2 separate regions of the Homo sapiens genome follow, and region 1 is linked to region 2. The links are contacts of gene promoters, found by promoter capture Hi-C in human tissues and cell types (Jung and others, 2019). All regions are on one chromosome and are shown on one strand. Each heading gives the region's core, a stretch centred on a gene start or on the middle of the fragment in contact. The rest is flanking DNA. Distances are from core to core; before and after follow the strand shown. Region 1 overlaps SMARCC1 (SWI/SNF related BAF chromatin remodeling complex subunit C1). Region 2 holds the start of DHX30 (DExH-box helicase 30).

What was found. Contacts are between HindIII fragments. The study calls those that stand out against the background at their distance.
Region 1: a fragment that was not itself captured here is called in contact with the fragment with the promoter of DHX30 in region 2 in 1 of the 25 tissues and cell types used here (IMR-90 fibroblasts).

The regions. Positions count from the first base shown.
Region 1 is chr3:47,646,337-47,653,069 of GRCh38, forward strand. All of the region lies in intron 21 of SMARCC1 (SWI/SNF related BAF chromatin remodeling complex subunit C1), which reads right to left. Among named protein-coding and RNA genes, the nearest start is that of SNORD146, 12 kb to the right of the region's middle. The HindIII fragment of the contact is 3,009 bases long and covers 3,305-6,313 here.
Region 2 is chr3:47,800,457-47,807,104 of GRCh38, forward strand. It overlaps DHX30 (DExH-box helicase 30), which reads left to right and starts at 2,682. Exons shown (of 22, transcript NM_138615.3): 1 at 2,682-2,756; 2 at 4,870-4,964. RefSeq lists silencers at 2,253-3,102, 4,280-4,476 and an enhancer at 2,827-3,352. The HindIII fragment of the contact is 11,371 bases long and covers 776-6,648 here.

The DNA.
Region 1 (6,733 bases), core at 3,559-6,058, 150 kb before region 2:
CTCTCCATGTATCTCATGTCATTTTGTTATTGTTGATAAACCAACAGGTTAAAAATCCTTCCCCAAAAATGTGTAATCTGACCCATGTCTGCAGCGTTAAAAGAGGATTAAACGACTTAAACAAGAAGGCATATAACTTAAACTAGTGGGTCCCGTGCCAAAGACATTCTAGTAATAACATGGTTAGCAAAAACAGTATGAAGAAAGGTCTAGTAATTATTTCCTAACAGGCTGAAATAACTGGGAGAGGCATATTGGAGAAGAGATTTAAATGTTTGCCACATAGCTGCCTTTAATATAAGTGTGTAATAATCATGAATTACGACTATTTGGCAGGAACCACCCTCCATTTTCTGCACTTCATTTGTAAACTGCCAGCAGTTATTTTCAAAAACAGACTGAATCATGCTACTTCTATTTTCTGATGACTTCCCAATGTCTGCAAGGTAACAACCCTTCAAAATCAGTCCCCCAGCCATCTCCAGAGTTGCATGCACTTGACCAGAGTACCTGCTCCCCACAGACCTCTTGGCATTCATTCCAGAATATGCCACCTACCTTCATTTTTTCCTTATTTGTTCCTGTATAAAATGTCACATTCTTTGTGAAGACTTCCCTAATGGACCCAAGCAAAACTAACTGTGTTTCTTCTGCATGAGCCTCTACTTAAGGTCAAAACTATTTTCATAATAACACTAAGATGTTATTTGCCTTTTCATTCTCATTCTCACATAGATTTAGAGTCTGACACTTTAGAGGCTGCATGATGCACAATGAAATGATCGGTCAGACAGCGAAAAGAATGCACTCGTGAATTCTTTCAAAAGTTCCTCAGTCTTGATTTATATTACAGATGGTACCTGACTTACAGTGATTTGACTCATGGTGTTTCAGCTTTACAATGGTGCAAAAGCGATGCATTCTGTTGAAACCATAATCTGAATATCCACATGATCATTCTGCTTTTCATTTTTGATGTAATATTCCATAAATTATATGAGATATTCAATACGTTAGCAAGCTTTGTGTTACATGATTTTGACCAACTGTAGGCTAACGTAGATGTTCTGAGCATGTTGAAGGTAGACTAGGCTAAGTTACGTTTGGTAGGTTAGGTGTATTAAATGCATTTTTGACATATTTTCAACTTATAATGAGTTTATCAGAATGTAATCCCATTGAAAGCCAAGAACCATCTGTATAGCAAACATCAACAGACATAATCCACATAAACTAAAGCATTTCGGGTTCTCCTGGATATCTTTTAAGAGTATAAAGGAGTCCTGAGGCCAAAAACTTGGGAGAACTTAGTCTCAGAGATTTCTGTCTTGTCAAGAACAGAATGAAGCACATGGCAGGAACCCAGTCAATACTTATGTGAGACTAATCACGTCATTCCCTATATTTAACTGCAAGGTTCCATAAAGCCAGCAATACACAGTCCAAGCTCACAACCTTTGGCATCACAATCTCTATAATCTAGCTACAACCTACCTTTGTAGGCTATTCTTTCCATGTCCTTATTTGAACTTTGTATTGTGGCCAATCTAGTTTATTTCCCATTCTCTGAATAACTTTCCACTTCTGTTTCTGTGACTTCAATCACACTGTTTTACATAATCAAATACTTTCTTGAATCTGCTCACTGACATTCTAAACCTCTTTTACTTTTTTTTGAGACAGAGTCTCACTCTGTTGCCCAGGCTGGAATGCAGTGGCATGACCTCGGCTCAATGCAGTCTTTGCCTCCTGGGTTCAAGTGATTCTTATGCCTCAGCCTCCCAAACAGCTGAGATTACAGGGATGCGCCACCACACCCAGCTAATTTTTGTATTTTTAGTAGAGACAGGGTTTCACCATGTTGTGCAGGCTGGTCTCGAACCCCTGACTTGAGGTGATCTGTATGCCTCAGCCTCCCAAAGTGCTGGAATTACAGGCATGAGCCACCGCACCCGGCCTTATAAACCTCTTTTTCTATGTTCAGCTCAAATACTACTTTTTTTTGTGAAGCATTCCTCCATCAAAAATTACATGTCCCCTTGTAAGAATTCATTTTTTTATTTTTTAAGAGACAGAGTCTTGTTCTGTCACCCAGGCTGGAGTACAGTGGCACAATCAGAACTCACTGCAGCCTCGAACTTCTGGGCTTAAGCGATCCTTCCATCTCTGCCTCCCAAGTAGCTGGGACAACAAGTGTGTGTCACCATATCTGGCTAGGTTTTTTTTCTTTTTTGTAGAGACGAGGTCTCACTATAGTATGTTGCCCAGACTAGTCTCAGACTCCTTAGCCCAAATGATTCTCCCACCTCAGCTTCCCAAAGTGGTGGGATTACAGTTGTGAGCGACCACACCTGGCTCCTGTGTAATAATTCTTATAGCCCTTCCTGTGTAGAGTCTTCCATGGACAAATAATACTATGCTTCACTCTATTGCCAACCCACCAAATGCTAAAATTATTTTTTTCATGTATGTGTAGCACAAAAAATAGCTTCAATTAGTAGAGTATTAACTGTATGTCGCATGACATGACTTGCCCACAGCAAGGGGAATATCTCAAATATCCAAAATGCCTGATTTGATTAAACAATCCCCCAAAGGCAGACAGTTATATTTTGTAACAAAAGCCAATTTCTTCCTGAAAATATACATCCTACTACCTAATAAATATGAGACATCAGGAAAGTCACGTAAACCCTAGTCAGTCCTTAGAAATTAAATGTCCAATTATGAGCTATTCAGAAGTTTGAGTCTATATTTCAATATGTTTTTACTATACTTGAAAGAGCCCTTTAAATATAACAAAGAGAAAGAGAGAAGCCCACTCCACGTGATGTAAGTCTGATGATCAAATATGGTTCCACATTTTTCTTACATGCATTGGCCTAGGGTGTTTTCACACATGGTGTTTTAGAAGTGCCTGACTTTAAAAATAATGTTATGGAAATCCTCATGGTGAGAAGAGCAAGGCTACTTATAAGCTATGAATAGCATCTGAGGCGAGAATTCTAACAGTCATTTCTGGGCTGTATGTTCTTAGAAAGTTACTTCTTCGGTATTATTTATTTCAGGATTATCTTAATCTCATAATGGTCTAGAGACTAGTTAGTCCTTAACCTTCTTAAAAACTAGGAACCATTAGTTGGGTTCTTTAACACAGAGCTGTGACAACTGGCTCAAGATGTACTCATGGGAAACCTGTATTCCACAGGCTGTTAAGGAGCTCGGTAGACAATCTACTCATTGATATATTTTTAAAAACTCTTGATTATTCTATTTGTGATTAAATTTTACCAAAAGTCATCAACTTGTAAGGAAAACACTTCAATTAACTCAATCCCTCAAAACCTGTCCAAACCAGAATTGAGATGCAGACAGTAAATCCACTCAGTAGCAAAAGAAATGAAACTAATACTTGAGATCAGGAAATATAAATGAGGGTAACAATAAAAGATTTTTGAGAAACCCTTGACTAGCCCTTGAATGTACAAGTACATTCCAACTCTCTTGAGGGAAAGGGCTGGTGTCCCAAAAAGGGACTAAAATTCATTGTATTAAATAACTGATGTAGGAAAATGTCCTTATCCTTAGGAAATACATGGTGGACTATTTAGGCTACAAAGAATCATCGAATGTCTTCAACCTACTTTGAAATAATTCAGGCCGGGCTTGGTGGCTCACGCCTGTAATCCCAGCACTTTGGGAGGCCGAGGCAGGCGGATCACGAGGTCAGGAGATCGAGATCATCCTGGCTAACACGGTGAAGCCCTGTCTCTACTAAAAATACAAAAAATTAGCCAGGCATGGTGGTGGGCGCCTGTAGTCCCAGCTACTTGGGAGGCTGAGGCAGGAGAACGGCGAGAACCCCAGAGGCGGAGCTTGCAGTGAGCGGAGATCGTGCAACTGCACTCTAGCCTGGGCGACAGAGCGAGACTCTGTTTAAAATAATAATAATAATAATAATAATTATTATTATTATTATTATTCAAGAAAAAAATAAAAACATTTCTTTAGATAGCTAAATAAATATCAAAAAGTTGAACCTAACTAGTAGGTATACAAGATTTCACTGTGCTATCCTATCAATGTTTGCTGTAAGTAAACAAACTACAAGATAGGCGATTTTGTTTAGTTTCCAAGTCATGTAAAAAAATATCTACCTGTAATCCTAGCAAAACACAAGCATAAAATGTGGCCTTGGGTTGAGTGCAGTGGCTCATGACTGTAATCCCAGCACTTTGAGAGGCCAAGGTGGGATGATGGCTTGAGCTCAGGAGTTTGAGACTAGTCTAAGCAACATAGTGAGACCCTGTCTCTACAATAACTAAAAGAATTAGCCAGGGATGGTGGTGCACACCTGTAGTCCCAGATACTCGGAGGCAGAAGTGGGAGGATCACTTGAGCCCAGGAGGTCAAGGCTGTAGTGAATCATGATCATGCCACTGTATCCAGCCAGGGAGACATAGCAAGACCCTGTCTCTTTAAAAAAAAATAAAAATAAATAAAGAAAAGTTTAATAAAATCTTTATAGAGCTTTTTAATAAAAGCCTTAGTGATGCAATGAAGAAAATTTTCTTTGAAAATCAAATATGTTATCTGCATAATAAATCAATTTAACAACTTCTACATGGGGGTATATTCTCAATCGAAAAGTTACAGTAAGACTTGAAAAAATATAGGTCAGACTCAGGCCAGGTGTGGTGGCTCACGTCTGCAATCCCAGCTCTTTGGGACGCTAAGGCAGGCAGATTGCTGGAGTCCAGGAGTTTGAGACCAGCCTAAGCAACATGGCGAAACCCTGCCTCTATAAAAAACACACAAAAATCAAGGTGTGGTGATGCACCCCTGTGGTCCCAGCTATTGGGGAGGCTGAGGTGGGAGAATCACCTGAGCCCAGGATGCAGAGGTTGCAGTGAGCCAAGATTGTGCCACTGCACTCCAGTCTAGGCAACAGAGTGAAACCCTGTCTCAAATATATATGTCAGACTCTGACACTCTTTTGGTCAAACTGCTCCACTTGCTCCACTTTGCATAAAGACTTAAACATTAATATTTTACAATAGCCCACAAATTACCTTAACATCTCATATGACCTCCCCTCCCCCACCAATCGAGCTATTATAACTTTACATGAGCCTCCTTGCTGTTCTTCAAGTATGCCAGGTAGCTCCTGCCCAGGGGGCTTTACACTGGCTTCTGCCAATACTGGGAACACTCTTACACTGGATGCCTACATAGCAGTCTTGCTCACCTTATTTACATCTTTGCTCAAAAGTCACTTTCTCAATGAGACTTTCCCTGATCATTTAAAATTGTAATTCCCACACTTTACTCATATCCTTGCAACCCTGCTTTGCTTTTCACCATAGCACATCAGCCAACATACTCTTCATATATAATTACATCTATACACGTTAAGTTTTACTTATTTGATTAGATTGCTGTCCATCTTACACTCTATAAATATAAAATATAAAGGGGAGAAATTTTGGTTTACTTTGTTTACCAGTATCCTAGCATCCAGAACACAAAGAAATGATGTGATAATATGATACACTGAGTTTGATTTTTTGTGATTATGTCCAAGAAAGCTTCTCTGGCACAGGCTCATGCACTGAATGACACTGACTGAATTTTGGTGTAAGGTTTTTGGTTTTTATTTGAGACATGGTCTCGCTTAGTCACCTAGGCTGGAATGCAGTAGTGTGGATCACAGCTCTCTGTAGCTTGGGCTCAGGTGATCCTCTCACCTTGTCTTCCTGAGTAGCTAGGACTACAGGTTTGCACCACCATGCTCAGCTAATTTTTTTATTTTTACTTTTTGTAGAGATGGGGTCTTGCTATGTTGACCAGGCTGGTCTCGAAATCCTGGCCTAAAGCAATTCTCCTGCCTGCCAAAATGTTGGGATTACGAGCATAAGCCACAGCACCCAGGCTTCTGTGGGTTTTGTTGGCATTCAGTGGCATATAGAGGAAGTCAACCACAGCTGCTCTGCCTGATGCATTTGCCTATTTCAGGAGACAGGTGTTAAGTTCTCAAGAGGGCCTGGGCTCTTCAGCATTATATTTCCCATAGTATCTAAGACGGAATAGTATTTTGGAGCTATTAAGCCTTTAAAGATGCTTGTTCAATGAATGAAAACCACACAGACACATCTACAAATTTTACTTCTGGCAGCCTGCTACAATGAAGAGAAGTAGAGCTTTGGGATTAGAGAGATTTAGGTTAAATTTCTGGTTCAGATACACACTTATGTAACCTCTCCATGCCTCAGTTTCCTTGCTTTTGCAAAAAAAAAAAAAAAAAGTTACTTCCTCCAAAGGATTCTCCTGAAAAGAAACTCAAATGGCCAATCAAAAATCCCTATACAATGTGGACTAAATATGGGTACTCAGAAGTATTTTTTGTATGCCTAGAATGGTCCAGTCAATGAAAAACAAAAAATATATAAATGTACAGAAATTAATAGTTCTTGGTGAGTGACCATAGTTAAAAAGATGGACTGAAGAAGACCCTTCTCATAAGAAAACACTCATTTCCTAAATAATTCCTATGGGAAATCACTTAAAATATAAATGTAAGAGGTGTTTTGAGTGTTCATCCAGCTTTACTTTCTTTTTTTTTTTTTTTTTTGAGACGGAGTCTCGCTCTGTCGCCCAGGCCGGACTGCGGACTGCAGTGGCGCAATCTCGGCTCACTGCAAGCTCCGCTTCCCGGGTTCACGCCATTCTCCTG
Region 2 (6,648 bases), core at 1,432-3,931:
AAAATAAAAAATTATCTGGGCGTGGTGGCATGTGCCTGTAGTCCCAGCTACTCAGGAAACTGAGGAGGGAGGATTAATTGAGCCTGGGAGGTTAAGGCTGCAATAAGCCATGATGGTGCCACTGCACTCCAGCCTGGGTGACAGAGTGAGACCCTGTCTCAAAAAAAAAACAACAAAAAAAAGACATTTGCATGCTATTCTCATCCTCTCTACCAGACTATAACTTTCTTTGGAGCAGGGACCACGACTTTATCACTTAACTTTCCCAACAACATTGCAAACATAATCTGAGTGAAGCTGAATCCATCATCTTTTCCAACTCTTGTGTCCCTTAATTATGTTAATAGTACATAATCCTTTCAGTCACTATGGTACAGATCTCAAAGTCATCTCTCCACACACTTGTGGCCTGGGCTCAGTCTGCTGCTCAACAGTCACCCCCCCTTTTTTTTCTTTCTTGCTTTTCTCACTGTTGAGTTAAATCTTTCATTCTCTCTCGGGATCTAATTAGCATGCTAGTTTCTATTTTCCCAGCTGATTCAACCCTTTCACTTCCAGAGGAAGCTTTCTAAATTACAGTATTGGCCCAGCGTGGTGGCTCACGCCTGTAATCCCAACACTTTGGGAGGCCAAAGTGTGTGGACCACTTGAGGCCAAGAGTTCGAGGCCAGCCTGGCCAACATGGTGAAACCATCCCTAGTAAAAATACAAAAATGAGCTGGGCATGGTAGTGCACACCTGTAATTCCAGCTACTTGGGAGGCTGAGGCAGGAGAATCGCTTGAACGTGGGAGGTAGAGGTTGCAGTGAGCCGCAACCACCCCACTGCACTCCAGCCTGGGTGACTGAGTAGAGACTCTGTCTCAACAACAACAAAAAAGTGCAGTATTTTACTCTCCTAATAATTTTTTAAATGTCTTACCAAAAAAAGTAAAAATTCCTTAGTATGGCACTCCCCAACAGTTTTTCAGTTCTATTTCCTGTAAAGCTTGCACACACATCCAACCCTGTGGTCACACTGAACTACTGAATATTCCTAGGATTTGTCCCTTGTTCCACTCGTATGTCTTTGTTCACGTTCCTTTCATTTTGCCATTCAGGAGTAACCACTCCTTTCTCTGAACTCTTGGAGTACCTAATACCTCCTTTCCAGCATTTACCACTTTCCATTTCCTTCACACAATGTTGTCATCTTCTCTACTAGGCTCTAAGTCCCTTGAGGCAGGGCCTTTGTAGCCTCCACACCAGCTTAGCAACTGATACACAGAGCACTCAGATGTCCGTGCAGGGATCTCTCTATTCTCCACACAACACAGCACCATGCCCTGTTCAGATGCACTAATTATTTGAATGAATAAATGATGTTCCACCCCCACACCCCGGTCTTCTAGCCAATGTAGAGAGAAAGAAAAGAGATACATGTTGAACTGTTTGCACACAAAAGTGACGGGATATGGCACTAATTCTTCATACAGCCTCAAAGGTCACATCTTTTTTTTTTTTTTTTTTTAAGTTTCATTCTTGTCGCCCAGGCTGGAGTTCAATGACACGATCTCGGCTTACTGCAACATCCGCCTCCCGGGTTCAAGTGATTCTCCTGCCTCAGCCTCCCGAAGTAGCTAGGATTATATGCGCCCGCCACCACGCCCAGCTAATTTTTTTGCATTTTTAGTTGAGACGGGGTTTCACCATGTTGGCCAGGCTGGTTTTGAACTCCTGACCGCAGGTGATCCACCCGCCTTGGCCTCCCAAAGTGCTGGGATTACAGGCGTGAGCCACCACGCCCGGCCTAAAGGCCACATCTTAAAACCATACTCTGTAAAATCCTGACCCAGCTTCAGAGCTACGCCACTGCGTTGTTTCCTTTTGAAGCTGAATTCCACTGAACCTATACTTGAACCTTATCTAGAGGACTACAGCGTGTAATTGGGACAATCCCCTTTCTCATTCCTAAGAGGTGATGTGGCCGGGCGGACCTCCAGATTTCCAGCAACTATGACTGGCACTCTCCCCGCGACCAGCAAGTGCCACCTTGTCCTTTGCCTAACGTTGTACAGTTTACGAAATCAACGAACCAACACGTTGATTTCATCTTCCCTGCAAACTGGGGAGACAAGACAAAAATGCTCACCTCCCTAAAAAAACAGATTAGAGGGGAGATGGGGAAGAGAAGAGGCGTGGCTACGAGCTGTGGCGGGGAAGGCGGGTGGAATCCCGGAGCCCGAGCTGGAAACCGTTCCCCGCTCAGCCATGACCCGGGCTGTTTATTCGCATCAGGAGGCGCGGGTGGCTCGCAGAGGGCGAGAAGACCCTTCCCGCTTTCACACTGCAGGCAGCTAAGTCGCCGAGAAAGGCAGCAACTTGACGCCCGACCCCGCCACCCAAACCCGCTCGCTCTGCGACCCCAGAGCAGCCGGCGCCAACCCGTCCCCTTCGCGACTCCGCCGGAAGTCCCGCCTGCACCGCCGCCGCGCCCCATTGGGCCGGGTGCTGGGGCATCCCGGGCGCTGGGTGCCCCGAGCGGCTACGACGAGTCCCAGGTGGGGCCGGGCTCCAGGCCCGCGGGGGAGCGGAGCCGTGCGCCGCAGGCGGGCTCCGTGACGCCGGGTGGGGAACGCCGGGCCGGTGGCGGGACTTCCGCCACGGGACTCGGAAGGGGCCGCGCCGCCGCTGCTGGGAGTTGTAGTCCGGCCGTGGTTGGGGGAGCCGCGGCTCATGCGCGGTGCACAGAGGCTTGTTTCACATCTGTAACAACAGGTGAATTGGGCTTTTTATTCTCCCCTTTCGTGCCCTCTTGAGGAGCCTGCCGCGGCCGGGGGTGGTCGTCGTGAGGAGGGGGCCCGGTCCGACCGCCAGCCTGGCGGAGAGTGGGGCGGAGACGCCGGCGGGCCCGAGGAGCAGGCCGGGCATCCTAGGCCTGCCCGGGAAGCCGGCCCGGCCGATCCGTGGGCAGCCAGGCCTCGGCCTGCCGTTGCCATGGAGCCCGGGCGGGGGCGGGGGCCAGACCGGTCCGCCGGGGCGGGCCTCGCAGCCAGGGGCTCCGCGGAGGCCGTGGGAGAGGCCGCTTCATTGGCGCAACGACGCCTTCGCCTCGGGATGCGCCGTTTCCCCAGGCAGGGCCTGGAGGAAGCCTCCTGAGTGCCCCGAGACCTTTGTCTACTTCTCCTCCTTCCCGGTGCTGCCCGGACCGTTCGTCCAGAGGGAGGCCCGGTGCCTTCTGGCCCCCCTAGTTTGCCCCCTTTTGCACCGACCTTGTCACTGGGGGAGGCCAAGGGGTGAGGTATTCTTTGTTTGCTGGTGGTAACTTGTCCCATTTAGCAGGGGAAGACCAAATGCATGTTGGGTCCTTTGTTTGCAGTGAACTGGAGTCCCAGGGGTCCTCAGAAACCCTAAGCCAGGGATATGGCATATCTAGTCGTTGTGTAGCAACATTGGTCACTTGAATTATGATTTTTCAAGGCAGAGGCTGTTTCACTTTACAACCCCACTCCATGAGGGTTTGCCATACACTAGCAGGTAGACTGCAGAAGGCCACTTACAGGCTTTCAACCTGGTTTTAGTTGCAGCTTATGGGCCAGAGTGAAATGAGACGTTGTCTGGTGATTTCCCTTGAAGTTTCTTGCAAGGTGGTAACCCCACTGTCATTGTGGGTTTTAACTACATCTTGTAATTTACACTTAAATCTTAGAGATTTAAGGCGATGTGCAGAAACTACATCCTTTGCTGCGTTTTCTACCGGTGTTGGCTCTTTATCCCTAAAAGATAGTTGCTCTTCAAGTGTTTTAATTTATGTAGCTGTGATACAAAGTTTTATTAGGGCCGGGAGCGGTGTCTCACGCCTGTAATCCCAGCACTTTGGGAGGCCGAGGCGGGTGGATCACCTGAGGTCAGAAGTTTGAGACCAGCCTGGCCAACATGGCTAGACCTCGTTTCTACTAAAAATACAAAAATTAGCCGGGCATGGTGGCGTGCGCCTGTAACCCTAGCTACTTGGGAGGCTGAGGCAAGAGAATTGCTTGAACCCAGGAGGCCGAGGTTGCAGTGAGCCAAGATCGCGCCATTTCACCCCAGCCTGGGCAACAAGAGCGAAACTCCTTCTCAAAACAAAACAAAACAAAAACCACACACAAGTTTTATTAGCTGTTGGACCTTTCTTGCCCCTTTCAGCCTTTGAAGATAACAGTATAATATGTCTCAAGGAATGAACCGTAGTACATTTAGGCAACAGCATAATATCCTGGAAATAAGAAAATTAGCCTAGTATAAGCATGGAGGGTTTTGGAGTCAGCATGCTTCAATGCTGATTTCCATCTGCCCTGAGGCAGCTATGGGATCTTGGGCAGGTTGTGTAACCTGTGCTTCAGTTTTCTTCTCTGGAAAGATAATTCCTACCTCACTGGATAGTTGCCTGGATTAAATGGGGTAAAGTCTATGGAAGTATGTTGTGAACTGTAAAAATGGTATTCAACTTTGAGTTATTGTTATTTTCCCAATCTTGAAGAGTATTATAGCTTCTTTATGTTAGATTATCATAATTATTATGGGATTAGAACTCAAAGTGGAAGTAGGTTTTGCTCTGGGCTTCCAGAAAATGCTTTTCAGGCTTACAAGGCTTTCTTTACCTTGACATCTTCTTAGATGATGTCAGAAGACTTCAGCACTTCTACAGGTGCTGGTGTAGGACAGCTTACAATTTAATGGGCCTAGAATGGGTCATGGTAAGTCCTGATTTGTAAGGCCATTTTGTCCAGTATGTGCCCTTCATGCCACTAACAAAATTTGTCCTTGTTAGAGCTAGTAAATGATGGTTGGAGCAACTTTCTTTCCCTATGGGGCCTCCACTGTATTGACTCAGCGTTGTACTTCTCAGGAGGAGGCCCAGCCTCGTGATGAGGAATAGCAAGGAGAGAATTCAGCTCCAGTTCAAAAGCCTACAAAATCTGAGACTGTCATTGCTTTTATAAGGTAAGTTGATTTAGCCGTGCACAGAGCAGTGGTGGATCTGATGCTCAGCTGTACTGTAAAACAAGAGGTATGTGTTAAACCTATTTCTGACCATTTTGGAAGAAGGATATCATTTATTTTATTTTGTTTTATTTTTGAGACAGAGTCTCGCTTTGTCCCCCAGGCTGGAGTGCAGTGGCGCGATCTTGGCTTGCTGCAACCTCTGCCTCCCAGGTTCAAGCAATTCTCCTGTCTCAGCCTCCCAAGTAGCTGAGATTACAGGCGCCTGCCACCATGCCCAGCTGATTGTTTTGTATTTTTAGTAGAGACTGGGTTTCACCATGTTGGCCAGGCTGGTCTCAAACCCCTGACGTCAGGTGATCAGCCTGCCTCAGCCTCCCAAAGTGCTGGGATTACAGGCATGAGCCACTGTGCCCAGCCAGAAGGGTATCATTTTTAGTCATTGTGGAGTCTCTGTCCTGGAACCATCCCCAAGTGACTCTACCTGGAGTTAAATTGTATTTCATTATGCAGGAAATCTTGATATAATAGCATTTTACTTATCTGTAAATTACTTAAGAGACACATTGAGCTACAAGGTTTTTTGTTTTTGAGACAGTCTTGCCCTGTCGCCCAGGCTGGAGTGCAGTGGTGCAATCTTGGCTCACTGCAACCTCCACCTCCTTAGTTCAAGCAATTCCCCTGCCTCAGCCTCATGCCACCAAGCCCGGCTAATTTTTTTGTATTTTTTTTTTTTTTTTTAGATGGGAGTCTCACTCTGTTGCCCAGGTTGGAGTGCAGTGGTGGGATCTTGGCTCACTGCAACCTCTGCCTCCTGGGTTCAAGCGATTCTCCTGCCTCAGCCTCCTGAGTAGCTGGGATTACAGGTGCGCACCACCACGCCTGGCTTATTTTTGTATTTTTAGTAGAGATGGGGTTTCACCATTTTGGTCAGGCTAACCTCAAACTCCTGACCTTGTGATCTGCCTGCCTCTGCCTCCGAAAGTGCTGGGATTACAGGTGTGAGCCACCGTGCCTGGCCAATTTTTTTCTTTTTTTTTTCTGAGATGGAGTCTCACTCTGTCACCCAGGCTGGAGTACAGTGGTGCAATCTTGGCTCACTGCAACCTCCGCCTCCCGGGTTCAAGCGATTCTTCTGTCTCAGCCTCCTGAGTAGCTGGGACTACAGGCGTGCACCACCACGCCTGGCTAATTTTTTGTATTTTTAGTGAAGATGGGGTTTTACCATGTTGGCCGTGCTGGTCTCGAACTCCTGACTTTGTGATCCACCTGCTTCGGCCTCCCAAAGTGCTGGGATTACAGGAGTGAGCCACTGCGCTCAGGCGTGCCTGGCCAATTTTTTTTGTATTTTTAGTAGAGACAGGATTTCACCATCTTGGCCAGAATGGGCTCGAACTCCTGACCTCAGGCAATCTGCCTGCCTCAGCCTCCCAAAGTGATGGGATTACAGGCGTGAGCCACCAAGCCTGGCCCACTACAAAGATTTTTAAACATTACTGCATTATGGCCGGTCGTGGTGGCTGATGCCTGTAATCCCAGCACTTTGGGAGGCTGAGGCGGGCGGATCACAAGGTCAGGAGTTCGAGTCCAGCCTGGCCAACATGGTGAAACACTGTCTCTACCAAAAATACAAAAATTAGCCAGGCGTGGTGGCGGGTGCCTGTAATCCCAGCTACTAGGGAGA